2 separate regions of the Homo sapiens genome follow, and region 1 is linked to region 2. The links are contacts of gene promoters, found by promoter capture Hi-C in human tissues and cell types (Jung and others, 2019). All regions are on one chromosome and are shown on one strand. The core of a region is centred on a gene start or on the middle of the fragment in contact, and the rest is flanking DNA. Distances in the headings are between cores, read along the strand shown.

Region 1 (5,604 bases), core at 1,829-4,328, 240 kb before region 2:
TCACTGCAGCCTCGAACTCCTGGGCTCAAGTGATCCTCCTGGCTCAGCCCCAGTAGCTAGGACCACATGTATGTGTCACCATACCTGGCTAGCTTTGTAATTTTGATTTTTGTAGAGATGGGGGTCTTGCTATGTTGCCCAGGCTGGTCTTGAACTCCAAGCCTGAAGTAATCCTCCCACCTCAGCCTCCCAAAGTGCTGGGATTACAGGCATGAGTCACCATACCCGGCATCTCTCTTTCATGAACTGTGAGATGTGGTCAAAAAAGTGAAAGCCAGACAGGCATGGTAGCTCATGCCTGTAATCCCAGCACTTTGGGAGGCCCAGGCAGGCAGATCACCTGAGGTCAGGAGTTCGAGACCAGCCTGGCCAACATGGTGAAACCCCGTCTCTACTAAAAATACAAAAATTAGCTGGGCGTGGTGGCAGGCTCCTGTAATCCCAGCTACTCAGGAGGCTGAGGCAGGAGAATTGCTTGAACCCAGGAGGCAGAGGTTGCAGTGAGCCGAGGTTGTGCCACTGCACTCCAGCCTGGAGACTCTGTCTCAAAAAAACAAACAACAAAAAAAGTGAAAGCTACTGGCAGAATGTTTCTGTACTGTAGGCATGTAAACATTTCAGTGTTTGTAGCTGGAGTTGGGGCAGGAGCCTTGGGTGAGAAAAAGGAACAGCTTCTGCTGTCTATTTTGTGCTTGTTTTCTCGTTTGTTTGCATTACTTTTTCTTTTCTCTTTTCTTTTCTTTTTTATTCTCTCTTTTTTTTTTTGAGACAGAGTCTCACTCATTCTGTTACCCAGGTTGGAGTGCAGTGGGATGATCTCGGCTCACTGCAACCTCCACCTCTTGGGTTCAAGCAATTCTCCTGCCTCAGCCTCCCGAGTAGCTGGGATTACCGGCGCCCGCCACCACACCTGGCTAATTTTTTTTTTTTTTTTTGAGATGGAGTCTCGCTCTGTCGCCCAGGCTGGAGTGCAGTGGCGCAATCTCAGCTCACTGCAACCTCCGCCTCCTGGGTTCACGCCATTCTCCTGCCTCAGCCTCCCGAGTAGCTGGGACTACAGGCGCTCACCACCACGCCCGACTAATTTTTTGTATTTTTAGTAGAGACGGGGTTTCACTGTGTTAGCCAGGATGGTCTCGTTCTCTTGACCTCGTGATCCACCCACCTCAGCCTCCCAAAGTGCTGGGATTACAAGCGTGAGCCACCGCACCCGGCCCTGGCTAATTTTTTGTATTTCTGGTAGAGACAGGGTTTTGCTATGTTGGCCAGACCGGTCTCAAATTCCTGGCCTCAAATGATCTGCCTGCCTTGGCCTCCCAAAGTGCTGGGATTACAGGTGTGGGCCACCGCACCCGATCTGCATTACTTTTTCAATGAAAAAATATGACGTAAAGGGGCAGTGTGGAGTGAGGCACAGGAGGGCTCAAGAACCATGAGATCCACAATCATGACAAGCTTGGCATTCCAATCCTGGCCCACTCTGGAGCCACAGTGGGACCCTGGGCAACTGGCTCCCGGCTCTCTGAGCCTCAGTTTAGCTCTTTGGCGGATGGGGCTAAGGGACCCCACCATGTGAAGATATGAGGTCAGAGGTGAGATCGTATGCGCGGCCTAGGGGCGTCTGGCATGAGCAGGCCCTGCGGAAATGATCATTCTCCTGACCGCTGCTGGGGCATGGCTGAGGACTGTCCCCTTCAGGTCTGTCTAATCTCTGATTTCTGGCCCCTGAGGGCTGCTCTGTCCTTGTTCTCCCGGGTAGATGGCAGCTCAGGGAGGGCCGGTAGCACTGCCAGCTCCTGGCCCTGGGGGTGGTCTGGACGAGGGGAGGTACTGCTGGGGGCTCAGGTGCCTGGAGCTGAGGGAGGAAGGGGTCTCGGCTGAGGTGGGGGCAGTTACCCGAAGAGTTGCAGGTGTCCGTTCTCCTTGGCAGGGCCGGCCAGAAGCAATAGGTCCGGGAGCTCCAGGGCTGGACTGGAGGCTGCCACCCCCATGGTGACCTCGTTGGCAACTTCTCCCAACCGAGTCACCTGGGGCCAGAGGTCAGAGGTCGGGGCAGGATAGATGTCGGGGCAGAACTGAGGAGGGATCAGAGGTTAGGAATCTTGGTAGGGGAAAAGGTCATGAACCAGGTGAGTTGAAAATCAGGCTGGGGGCCAGATATCTTGAAATTAAAGTTCAAGAATCATATGGGTGTGAAGTCAGGGAAACTGAGGCAAGGGAGTTACAGGCCAGGGTTCACAAAGAATCTAGAGAACTAGAAGTATGGGGTGTCAGAGATCACATAGGAGTTGGGAGTCGGGAATCCCACGAGATGGACGTTATGGGGGAGCAGGGGCTTTCCAAGTCAGGAGGAGGTCGAGGGGCAGGCCGAGGCTGGGGATGAGGGGGTTCTGGGGCTCCCTACCTGTACGAAGTTGCTCTCAAAGATGGGGAAGTCCCGAAACTGGTCGAATTCGCCGCTCTGGAGGTAGCGTTGGAGCCGTCTGGGACGGCCCGTGGGAGAGGCTGCAACCAGGAGGCATTTTACCAGGACGAAGTCTGGGGGTCGATCCTGGGAGGCTGTGCCTGGCTTCCCAACTGAGAGGGCCCGGCACAGCCCCGCGGAGAGGACGGGGTATCAGATGCCCCCGAATTGCCGGCCCCATCCTACTTGGTTCCTTCACCAGGTCCAACCCCTCTAGGCCTGGCTCCCCTCTCTCACCTGCCATCCCACCTGGTTCCACCTCGCCAGCTCCACCCAGGGCCGGCTTAGGGCCGCGATCCCGCCTCATTGCAATGTCCCCGTCCGACGGGAGCGGACGGAGGAGCAGAGGGAGAAAGCGAGGGGGCGGGACTACGCGCACTGTGACGTCATGATGCGGAGCGGGCTTTATGACGTCACACAAGAGCGGGCTCCTGATTTGTGATGACGTCCCTGGAGGGGGCGGCTCCTGGAGATCAGGCCAAAGGGGCGGCCCCATCCTGCTGACGTCAGGCCCCAGGTGCGGACGGGTGCCAGTGCGCAGGTGCCGGGGCCCAGCGCAGGCGCACGGGCGTCAGGATGCGGCCTGTTCCTCCCGGCGTGCTCCGCGGCTCTTGGCTCACAGCCGTCCCTTCGCTGGTGGGAAGAAGCCGAGATGGCGGCAGCCAGCGCTGGGGCAACCCGGCTGCTCCTGCTCTTGCTGATGGCGGTAGCAGCGCCCAGTCGAGCCCGGGGCAGCGGCTGCCGGGCCGGGACTGGTGCGCGAGGGGTGAGTGCTCTTTAGCTGTGCATAGCGGGCGCGGTCTACGGATGTCGCAGGTCTTGGGTCTTTAGGTGAGTTACAGACGGAAGGAGGCTGCGCAGGGCTGAGAGGGAAGAGGTGGGAGATCCCTGGAAAGCCAGGCCTCAGTCACGCACGCGCAGGAGGGGCCTCGCCAGTGCACCGGGTTGCAAGGACTGGGTGGGAGGACAAGCGCACCTGTCGGAAGGCTCTGGCTCGGGAATATGTATGAGGGGGCGGGGCTGGGGGTGTGGAATCTTGGAGAATCCGACGTCCGGGCGGTTGAAATGAAAGAGGCAAGGTGAAGCCGGGCGCGGTGGCTCATCTGTCATCCCAACGCTTAGGGAGGCCGAGGCGGGAGGATTGCTCTAGGCCAGGAGTTCAAGACCAGCCTGGGCAACATAGCGAGCCCTGTCTCTACAAAAAATACTAAAAAAAAAAAAAAAATTAGGCCGGTCGCGGTGGCTCATGCTTGTAATCCCAGCACTTCGGGAAGCCGAGGCGGGCGGACCACTTGAAGTCAGGAGTTCAAGACCAGCCTGCTCAAAATGGTGAAACCCCGTCTCTACTAAAAACACAAAAATTAGCTGGATGTGGTGGCAGGTGCCTGTAATTCCAACTACTCGGGAGGCTGAGGCAGGAGAATCGCTTGAACCCAGGAGGCAGAGGTTGCAGGGAGCTGAGATCACGCTACTGCACTCCAGCCTGGGCGACTGAGCGAGACCCTGTCTCAGAAAAAGAAAATAAGGCGTGGGAGGGGGCTCTTGAGGAAGTGGAGATGAGTTTTGTCTCCTAAATATGCGTGAGTATGCAAGTTTGGAGGTTGGAGAAAAGGAAAGCATGAATCTTGAATGTGCTTAATAGGGACTGAACTCAGGCTGCATCTTGGCTATTGGGCTGTCAGGTGATAAGGAGGCCATTTGAATATTAGCATGAAAAAGAAGGCTTGGGAGAGGGAGAGTGTCATTTAACTCATGAGTATTTGTGGCGCAAGGCTTGGAAGTGACCTTGGGATAGTTGCTTTGGCAATGAGGTTAGGCATGTTTGTAGGGTCTGGTTTTCTGGGGGTGAGGGAGTGCAGAGTATGAATATTCATGAAATGGGTGGTTTCTAGTGAAATAAAGGCAAGCAGCAGTGATTAACTTGAAGATAAGGCTCCTCCCTCAGCCCACCAGTCTGTCTGTCCTGGGTTCTGTGGGTGACTACTATGCTGAGGGCTTGGGTGGTCCTCACCTGGGGCCTTCTGTGTCCTCTGCAGGCTGGGGCGGAAGGTCGAGAGGGCGAGGCCTGTGGCACGGTGGGGCTGCTGCTGGAGCACTCATTTGAGATCGGTGAGTCAGGCAACGTCCTCTCCTAGACACTTAACATTGGTGCCCTGAGAAGTCAAGACTTGGAGTCTGGGTGCCTCCCGTCGTATGACATTTACTAACAACCATTTACTAACAGATTTGCCTCAGGTTAGGGGAAAGTGGGACATGAAAGAAGAGAAACACTCTTTAAATGCCCCCTTGCCTGTGAGACAAACCTCAGTTTTTAAAAGGTCATCACAGCAGTAATAATTTCAGAGCGGCTTTCCTGATCAGTCGCCACGTGCCCAGCATTAGCGGTTCCACGCTTTGCAAGTATTAACTCAGATGTCCTCACAGCAGCCATGTGAGGTGGTAGGTATTCGTGTCAGCCCCTTTTTCCAGAAGAGGAAACGGGCTCAGAGTAGGCACCACACAAGGTCTCATCGTGAGTGAGTGGCAGAGCAGGGGCCAGCTTCAAACCCAAACTTAAATTGCCATGATGCAGGTGTCCAGGTTCCCAGAGCTGGACGTCAGTGCTGCCCAGAGTGTAGTAATCGAGTCTGAGGCCCCGAACCTGAGGGCACAAACCCTGAAGCTGGTGCCCCTCTGCAAACCCTGGCATCTGCTCAGTGAACAGCTCCCCTGATTCTGACATGGCCAGGTAGTTGGGAATTCCTGAACTCCACAGCCTCCGTATTTTGCAGTTGGGGAAGCTGAGGCTCAGAGAGGTTGTGTGGCTATCCCTGGGTCACCTGGTGAGGCAGAGGCAGGATTTGGGAGCTGTGGGGTTCATGCATCTGCTACGGGTTGCCTTGTGAGGTGGAACATGGTGGAGGTGTCCCCACTTTGCAGATAGCAAAATGGGGGCCCAGATGGGGAGGGAACCTGGTCACTCGGGTGGAGGCCAGGCCAAAATTTGAAGCTGGACCTCCTGGCCCCTGCCTGGGTTGAAGGGTGGGCGGGGGAGGGGGCGTCTCTGAACCTGAGCTCCTCACAGATGACAGTGCCAACTTCCGGAAGCGGGGCTCACTGCTCTGGAACCAGCAGGATGGTACCTTGTCCCTGTCACAGCG
Region 2 (6,310 bases), core at 2,896-5,395:
ACCTTCGTGTGCAACTTGGCCAGCTGCTTCTCATCCAGGTTGGTCTGTTTGTAAACTCGGGTCTTGTATCGGAACTGAGGTCAAGGGTAGGGTAGTGAGAGAGACACAGAGACTTGGAATCAGGGGCCTGGGGAGAAGGCTTGGGGTAGGGGAAGGTCTGATCCCCTTCTAATTCCCCGGGGTAGCTCAGGGTGGGAGTGAAAACAGCCCTGGAACCTTGGTCTAGGCGGTAGATGGGTGGCAGTGGCTTTTCCGACAGTGCTGGGTATTATGGTATATGTGCACTGCAACCCCTGCCTTGAAGGAGGAGGAGTCTGGACCCCACAGGGAATGTTCTAGAGTGCCTACTGTAATTGGGAATCCTCCCCCAATTTGATGGGTGAGGAGAAGCTTGGGGCAGGAAAGTGACTTGGCCAAGGCCACTTAGCTGGTCAGAAGCAGAACAGATGGTAATTTGAACTCAGGACTCTCTGACTTCCCTGTGATGCTTAGAAGGTCTGGACTCGCACACTGGGTGCCCCCTCGTTAAGGTTTCGAGTGTGTTAAAAAGTGGGTGGGGGGCAGATGTGTTTTAGGGCATGCCTTCTCTTATCAGTGAAGGAGTTGGGGAAGCTTCACCTCCAGGTAGGGGACCCCCTTCTCAAAGGACTGGGGGTACTCCCGCAGCAGCCTCTCCTCCTCCAGGAAGTTGGCATCGCGGCCGGAGGTGGCCGGTTGGAACAGGCCATAGTTGAGCACATCCTGCAGGCTCTCGCTCAGGGCACAGAGCACCTGCTGCTTGGCCGTCCAGATGGTGGCATCGGGGTTGAAGCGAAGGCATTTCTGGTTGGGGAAGAGATAGGGGCTAGGGTGGGCCAGGGGCCAGAGGAGAGCCTGAGGTGGGTTGGGAAGTGAGCCAGGAGCTGAGTGTGGGGGTGATTCCTGGGAGGATACCCAGCACCAGTGGACTCCCCATGTCGGTTGGGGCACTGTCCCTCTCCTGCCGCTGGCCAGTGGGCAGGTACTCACTGTCTGGTGCAGGTCCGGGATGCCAATCCTGAAGACCATCATGCTGAAGTGGGCGTCGTCTGGGACGGACATTGAGCGGCCCTGGAGGCCTCTAACAGAGGCCAGGCTACCAGGTGCCCCACTGCCCTGGCCCCGGGTCCCCCGGGGGCCTCGACCTGGCCCGTCTGGGGAGCTGTCGGACTCTGAGCCCCCCTCGGGACACTCGCTGGCACTGTGGCGTTCCTCGTCCTCGCTTGTCGCGGGGCTGTGGGTCATTGTGGGGCCACGGGGCGACGGGGGACGGCAGCATCACAGGCGGCTGCAGGGGCCAAGGGCGGCCATCAGACTAGGAGCCCGGGACCCCTCAGAGGCCGCAGGCGCTATTCGGTGGTCAAGCGGTCAAGGGCAGCCTACCCCCACTGCCCAAGATAGGCAGGAAGGAGGCTGGACACACCCTCGGCCTGCACGGCCTCCCCTGCCGCCTCCTCCCACGCTGGCACGCACACACCCCTGTCCCTGACATGCTTCTGGCATGTGTCTCCTTCCCTGCCCTTGGCCCCGCTTGCAGCCCGCCCCCTGCGCCCCACTTTGCTGGTGACCCAGCGTGGCCGTGTCCCAGAAACCGCAGAATCACCGCGGGAGCTACTGGCCCACTTTGCCAGGCCACAGAAAATGCAGCTAAAATTAGCTAAGGACAGACAGGTGGACAAACTGACAGGCATCCTGCCCTCCTGGCCCCAGCCTGGCCCCTCATCCCAGGGCCGGGGGGTGGGGTTGGGGAGAAGCTGAGGCTGACACTGAGATGTAGTAAGGGGGAGAGGGAGGTGTGGTGAGCCTGGAGCGGGTGGAGCTGGTGACTTCACTCAAGTGTGGCTGACAACGCGTGGCATGCCGAATAGTGCTGGGGAATCTGCCGTCCCAGGGGAGCAAGGGGCACTGAGATGGGGGTGTCATGGGCAGAGCATTTGGCCTAGGGTGTCCCCAAGGGAACCACAAGAGGTGGCTTTTGGAGACTGGGGCATCTTGAGAGGGTGTGCGGGTAGGTGGGGAGGTCGGCCTGGGGAGTGCTGTCCAGGTGACAGTGGTGTGGTGGCCCGGGTAGATGTGGGTGGCTGCAGATGACCTGTAGCTCTTTTCTAGGACTGCAGGGTGGGTGGGCTGGCTTGCTGGGTACTAGGGGCTCCACTCTGAGGACTGGGGGTGTTAGGAGGGAGGCTAAGAAGTGAGAGGAGGGTCTGGGGAACTGAGTGGGGGATCATCTCTAGATCCTTGCTGTTCTCCCTTGAGGTGGCCTTATGAGGGTGGAGCCCCTTCCAAATGGGGTCCGCCTCCCTTCTGTTCTCCCCCAACTCCCACCCCAGCACCGGAAACCAGAATGTCTGGTCTGGTCCCTCCCCCCAACACCAGGCCCGGTTCCTGCACCGTTGCCATGGAGATGGGAAGCAGTGGAGGGTACTGCTGACTTTGGGGGAGTGGGGATGGGCTGGGGGGTTGGGAAAGGGAAGACTAAATGTGTGTGGTGGGAGGAGAGTTCCAGGAGGTGTGGGCGAGCGAGCCTCTAACCCAGGGCCGGCGGACCCCTCCCCCACGCGCGGCAGCGCTGCGAAGCCCCCTCCCCCTCCAGGTACCCAGCCACGCCGCCCCACCTCGTCCCTGCGGAGACCCCGGCTGCCTCCTCCCTGCCCCGCCGCACAGCCCACCTCGCGATCTGGGGCCCGCAGACACTCCCCCTCGGCTGACCCTGGCTGACCCCCAGCCTCAACCCCGCTCGGAGGGGGTGGCCGGTGGGATGAAAGAAAAGCTGGCTAGGGCCCCCCGCGCGTACGGCTGCCCCAGCCCCCCCGGGCCGGCTCCGGCCCCTCCCCCTCAGGGCTCGCGGGAGGGAGCGGGCACGCTCCGCCGGGGCGGCATGAATCAAACGCTCCGCGGCTAAGAATAGCTGGCACGCAGCTGGTACCGAGACGGGCTGAGGAATCGGCGAGGGGGGTGGTGGAGGACGCGAGAGAGGGGGTGCCCTGGGAGGCTGTGGGGGGACAGGGGGCGGCTGGCGTGGCCGAGAGCGGGGCCGGGGAGAATGAATGGAGGCGGAGGGAGGCGGGGAGGGGCGGGGAGAGAGAGCCGGAGCCGAGGCTGGGAAACTGGTGGGGGAGAACCCGGCCGGGGAGAGGGGCGGGGGGCACCGGGGAGCAGGAGTCGGGGGCGGGAGCCGAGGGGGCGCGCCGGCCGGCGGTGTAGGGACTGGAGACCTGGTGGGGACGCAGGGAGCTTGGACAGGGGTGGAAAGGGACTGGAGGAGCCTGGAAGGAGAAGCGGGAGCTGGAGGGGTCGAAAGGGGCGGAGGAGGCCCGGGCCTAGACCCTCGCTGGAGGGGAGTGGGGACCAGGGTGACCTGGCGGAGGGGCCCAGGTACGCCAGGGAGGGCGAGGCGGGGGAGTGGCCGGGCTGGGCGGGGAGGCGGGTACCAGGACCGAGCCCTTGGCCCCGGAGAGCCGGGAGGCGGGTTCGGGATAGGGGCTCTGCTGGCCGGGGGTGGGGGGCGCGCCCTCCCATCAAGGATGCGATCTGGGACGGGGCACCGGGGACCCGGGCGTAACCCAATTTGGTGTCGCCCAGGGCAACGCTCCCCACCTCACCCGTACCCCCAGCCGCACACCCAGGCCAGGAGCCCGGCGCCGGGCCAAGGACATCCGGGGCGCCCTCGCCCCCTCCCGCGGCCCCGGCCCCGCAGCTGCCCCAAACCCCCAGGTTCTCGACCCCCTTACCTGCCTGGCGGGGCTGCTGAGTCCCGGTCGGCGGCGCCCGCGGCCCCTCCCCCCTCCCCCCACCCCCCACCCCCCCGGAGACGGGGACCCTCAGGCCATGCCCCACCGCCCCGGAGGGCGAGCGGGCCCGGGGAGGGGGCGGGCGGGGACCGGGGGGGAGGGCGGGAGGGCCGAGGACCTCACCCCCCCCGCGGGCCGGGCCTGGCCATCCGCAGAGCGCCCCCCCTTCCGCCGCGGCCGCCGCGCCCCTCCTCGCCCGCCCCCGGCTCGGTCCGGCCGGCTCCGGGCGCCGCGTCTCCGCCTGCTCTTCCTCCTCCTCTTCCTCGGGCCGCCGCCGCCGCCGCCCGCTCCGCGCCTCCTCTGCCACCCTTCTCGCTCTCTCGCTCTCGCTGTCTCTCCCTCACCCTGTCTCTCTCCCTCCCTCTCTCCCTCCCTCCCCTCCCTCCGCCCTCTCCCCTCCCTCCGGGAGCCGGCGGAGGAGACATCGCCCCTCCCCGCGCCCCCAAACCTCGCCCATCCCCCACCACCGCCGGCTCCGCCCCCTACCCTTGCCCTCCCCCACCACTCCTCCCCACCTCCGAGTCCCCAAATCCTGACTCCGCCCCTGCTTGCTCCCATACCCCGAGGAAGGGGTCCTGCCCCCATAAGGTGCCCCCCCACACACACCTCAGGACCACCCCCTCCCAGAGAGCTCCCCGCCGCCCTACACAGAGTGGGGCACAATAAATATTTGTTGCCAGACTCTACACCCCCAAATTTAAGTGTGAAGGCTATAGATTCCCACCCTGTCCCCCCAAACACACACACACCCTTTCCATTTAAGCACTGGGTCAGGGCACACGTGGACATACCTGGGCCAGGCCACATTTCCCCAAGGCACAGGTGCATAGTCACCAGCTGTAACGGCACCTGCAGAGTCCCCACATACACACACTCTCCAGCGCATGCATGCCCAGACACAATGCACCTGGGGTACACAGCTACAAACACACCCAGCTACATGCAGTTGTCACACCCCTGTGCCCGGGCACACACGCAGCACATGCACACATTTGCCCACCACACACGCACGTGCGCGCGCACACACGCACACAGGCGTTCACCCCGGTATGCATGCCCAGATCTCTCAACACCAAAACGGAGTTACAGCACTGTAGAGACGTGTGCACGCCTTCCCATCACACCCACCCACCGTGCTGTCCATTGCACTGGCTCGCACTCACCCGTTTACATGCCCAACACCGTGCCATCCTTCCCCTCCAGGATAGTTACTGCTGACATTCCTGGAGCACTTTCTGTGTGCCAGGCTCAGGGACTTTCGCCATCCCCATTTTCCAGAGGGGGAAACCAAGGAACAGAGAGGCTAAGTAACTTGCCCAAGGTCATCCAGCTGTAAGGAGGTGGTAACAAGGATCAGGAACAGGTAGGCTGGCTCCAAAGTCCTCACTTGACAACTATGGTGCACTACTGGGCATATCCCCTCATAGTTGCATATCCTTATTCATCACACACAGACACACCCAACCGTCTCCTCAGAGTTTGCACATGTCTGTGTAGGCACGCATATGCAGCCAGCTGCAGGCAGACAGCTCATTCATGCCTGGGACGCACCCACAGGGACAGAGCAGATCCCACAGGGCAGCAGTGAGTGGTGAGTGTCCCCTTAGCCCAGGCTTCCTCATTCTCCCAGCTCCAACAGCACCTCCAGGGCCTGCAGGGGGCAGTTCTAGGCAGCTTCTGGGTTCCCCTCCAGCTGCAGGCTCTCCGGGGTACCCGAGTATGAGCTGGAGGAGGTGCCTGCTCAGCCTGGGGAGGCCTCTATCTTGATGCGTACCCACTAGCCCAGGTGGTGAGCAGCTGGGCCCGGGGAAAGCACAGCTGCCCATGTTGGCTCCAGCAGCCAGAGAGGCTGTGCACCCCTGCACACTTTACAAGGCCTTTCCCCACATACGCATTATTTCTTGAGGTCTGTAGCTCCTGGTGAGGGGCCCCAGGTTCCCGATGGGCACCTGAGAGGCCCAGGCTCTGAGGCAGGGAGCAGTCTGCCCAAGGTCACAGTGCCCTCGATGTACCAGGATTTCTTGGAAAACGGAAGGCTGGAGGCACTGATTTCCAAGGCCCCTCCTGGGGCTCCCGGCAGCCGAGGGCAGATGCCCTGCTCTTGGAGCCAGAAACCTTGGCTAGCTGCCGCCACACTGGTGACCTCCAGCAGGCTATGCTGTTTCAGAGCCTCGGTCTCCTCCTTTGAAGAGCAGGCCCAGTGATCCTTGGCTGGTGTGCCCCATGCTTGTTGGCACCACCAGCCAGGCCTGGGCGGGAAAAGCCCTGCATGACTCATGGGCCTGACATAGAGGGGCATGGCATGGCATTGTTCTTCCTTGCCTCCAAGCCTCTCTCCCACTGCCCTCACCACCTCTACCTACCCTGCCACCACCACCCTGGGAACTTGGGTGCCAGCAAACCAAAGAGGTGAAGCTTCCAGGCCTTTGACCCCACCAGGAACGGCTACCCTCTCGCCCACTCAACAGGTTGATTGAACACCTACTATGTGCTAGGTAGGC

The links. The method cuts DNA at HindIII sites, captures the fragments that hold promoters and counts their contacts. A contact is called where the count stands out against the background at its distance.
Region 1: the fragment with the promoter of EMC10 here is called in contact with the fragment with the promoter of SHANK1 in region 2 in 1 of the 25 tissues and cell types used here (dorsolateral prefrontal cortex).

What each region holds. Positions count from the first base shown.
Region 1 is chr19:50,473,429-50,479,032 of GRCh38, forward strand. It overlaps EMC10 (ER membrane protein complex subunit 10), which reads left to right and starts at 3,079. Exons shown (of 7, transcript NM_206538.4): 1 at 3,079-3,230; 2 at 4,501-4,573; 3 at 5,529-5,604. The coding sequence starts at 3,117. It overlaps GARIN5A (golgi associated RAB2 interactor 5A), which reads right to left and starts at 3,420. Exons shown (of 5, transcript NM_001308429.2): 1 at 2,702-3,420; 2 at 2,405-2,505; 3 at 1,897-2,075. The coding sequence starts at 2,960. RefSeq lists enhancers at 2,717-3,217, 3,084-3,283. The HindIII fragment of the contact is 25,206 bases long and covers 1-5,604 here.
Region 2 is chr19:50,715,657-50,721,966 of GRCh38, forward strand. SHANK1 (SH3 and multiple ankyrin repeat domains 1) reads right to left here and starts at 4,146. Exons shown (of 24, transcript NM_016148.5): 1 at 3,750-4,146; 2 at 1,009-1,306; 3 at 619-822; 4 at 3-74. The coding sequence starts at 1,263. The HindIII fragment of the contact is 4,964 bases long and covers 3,419-6,310 here.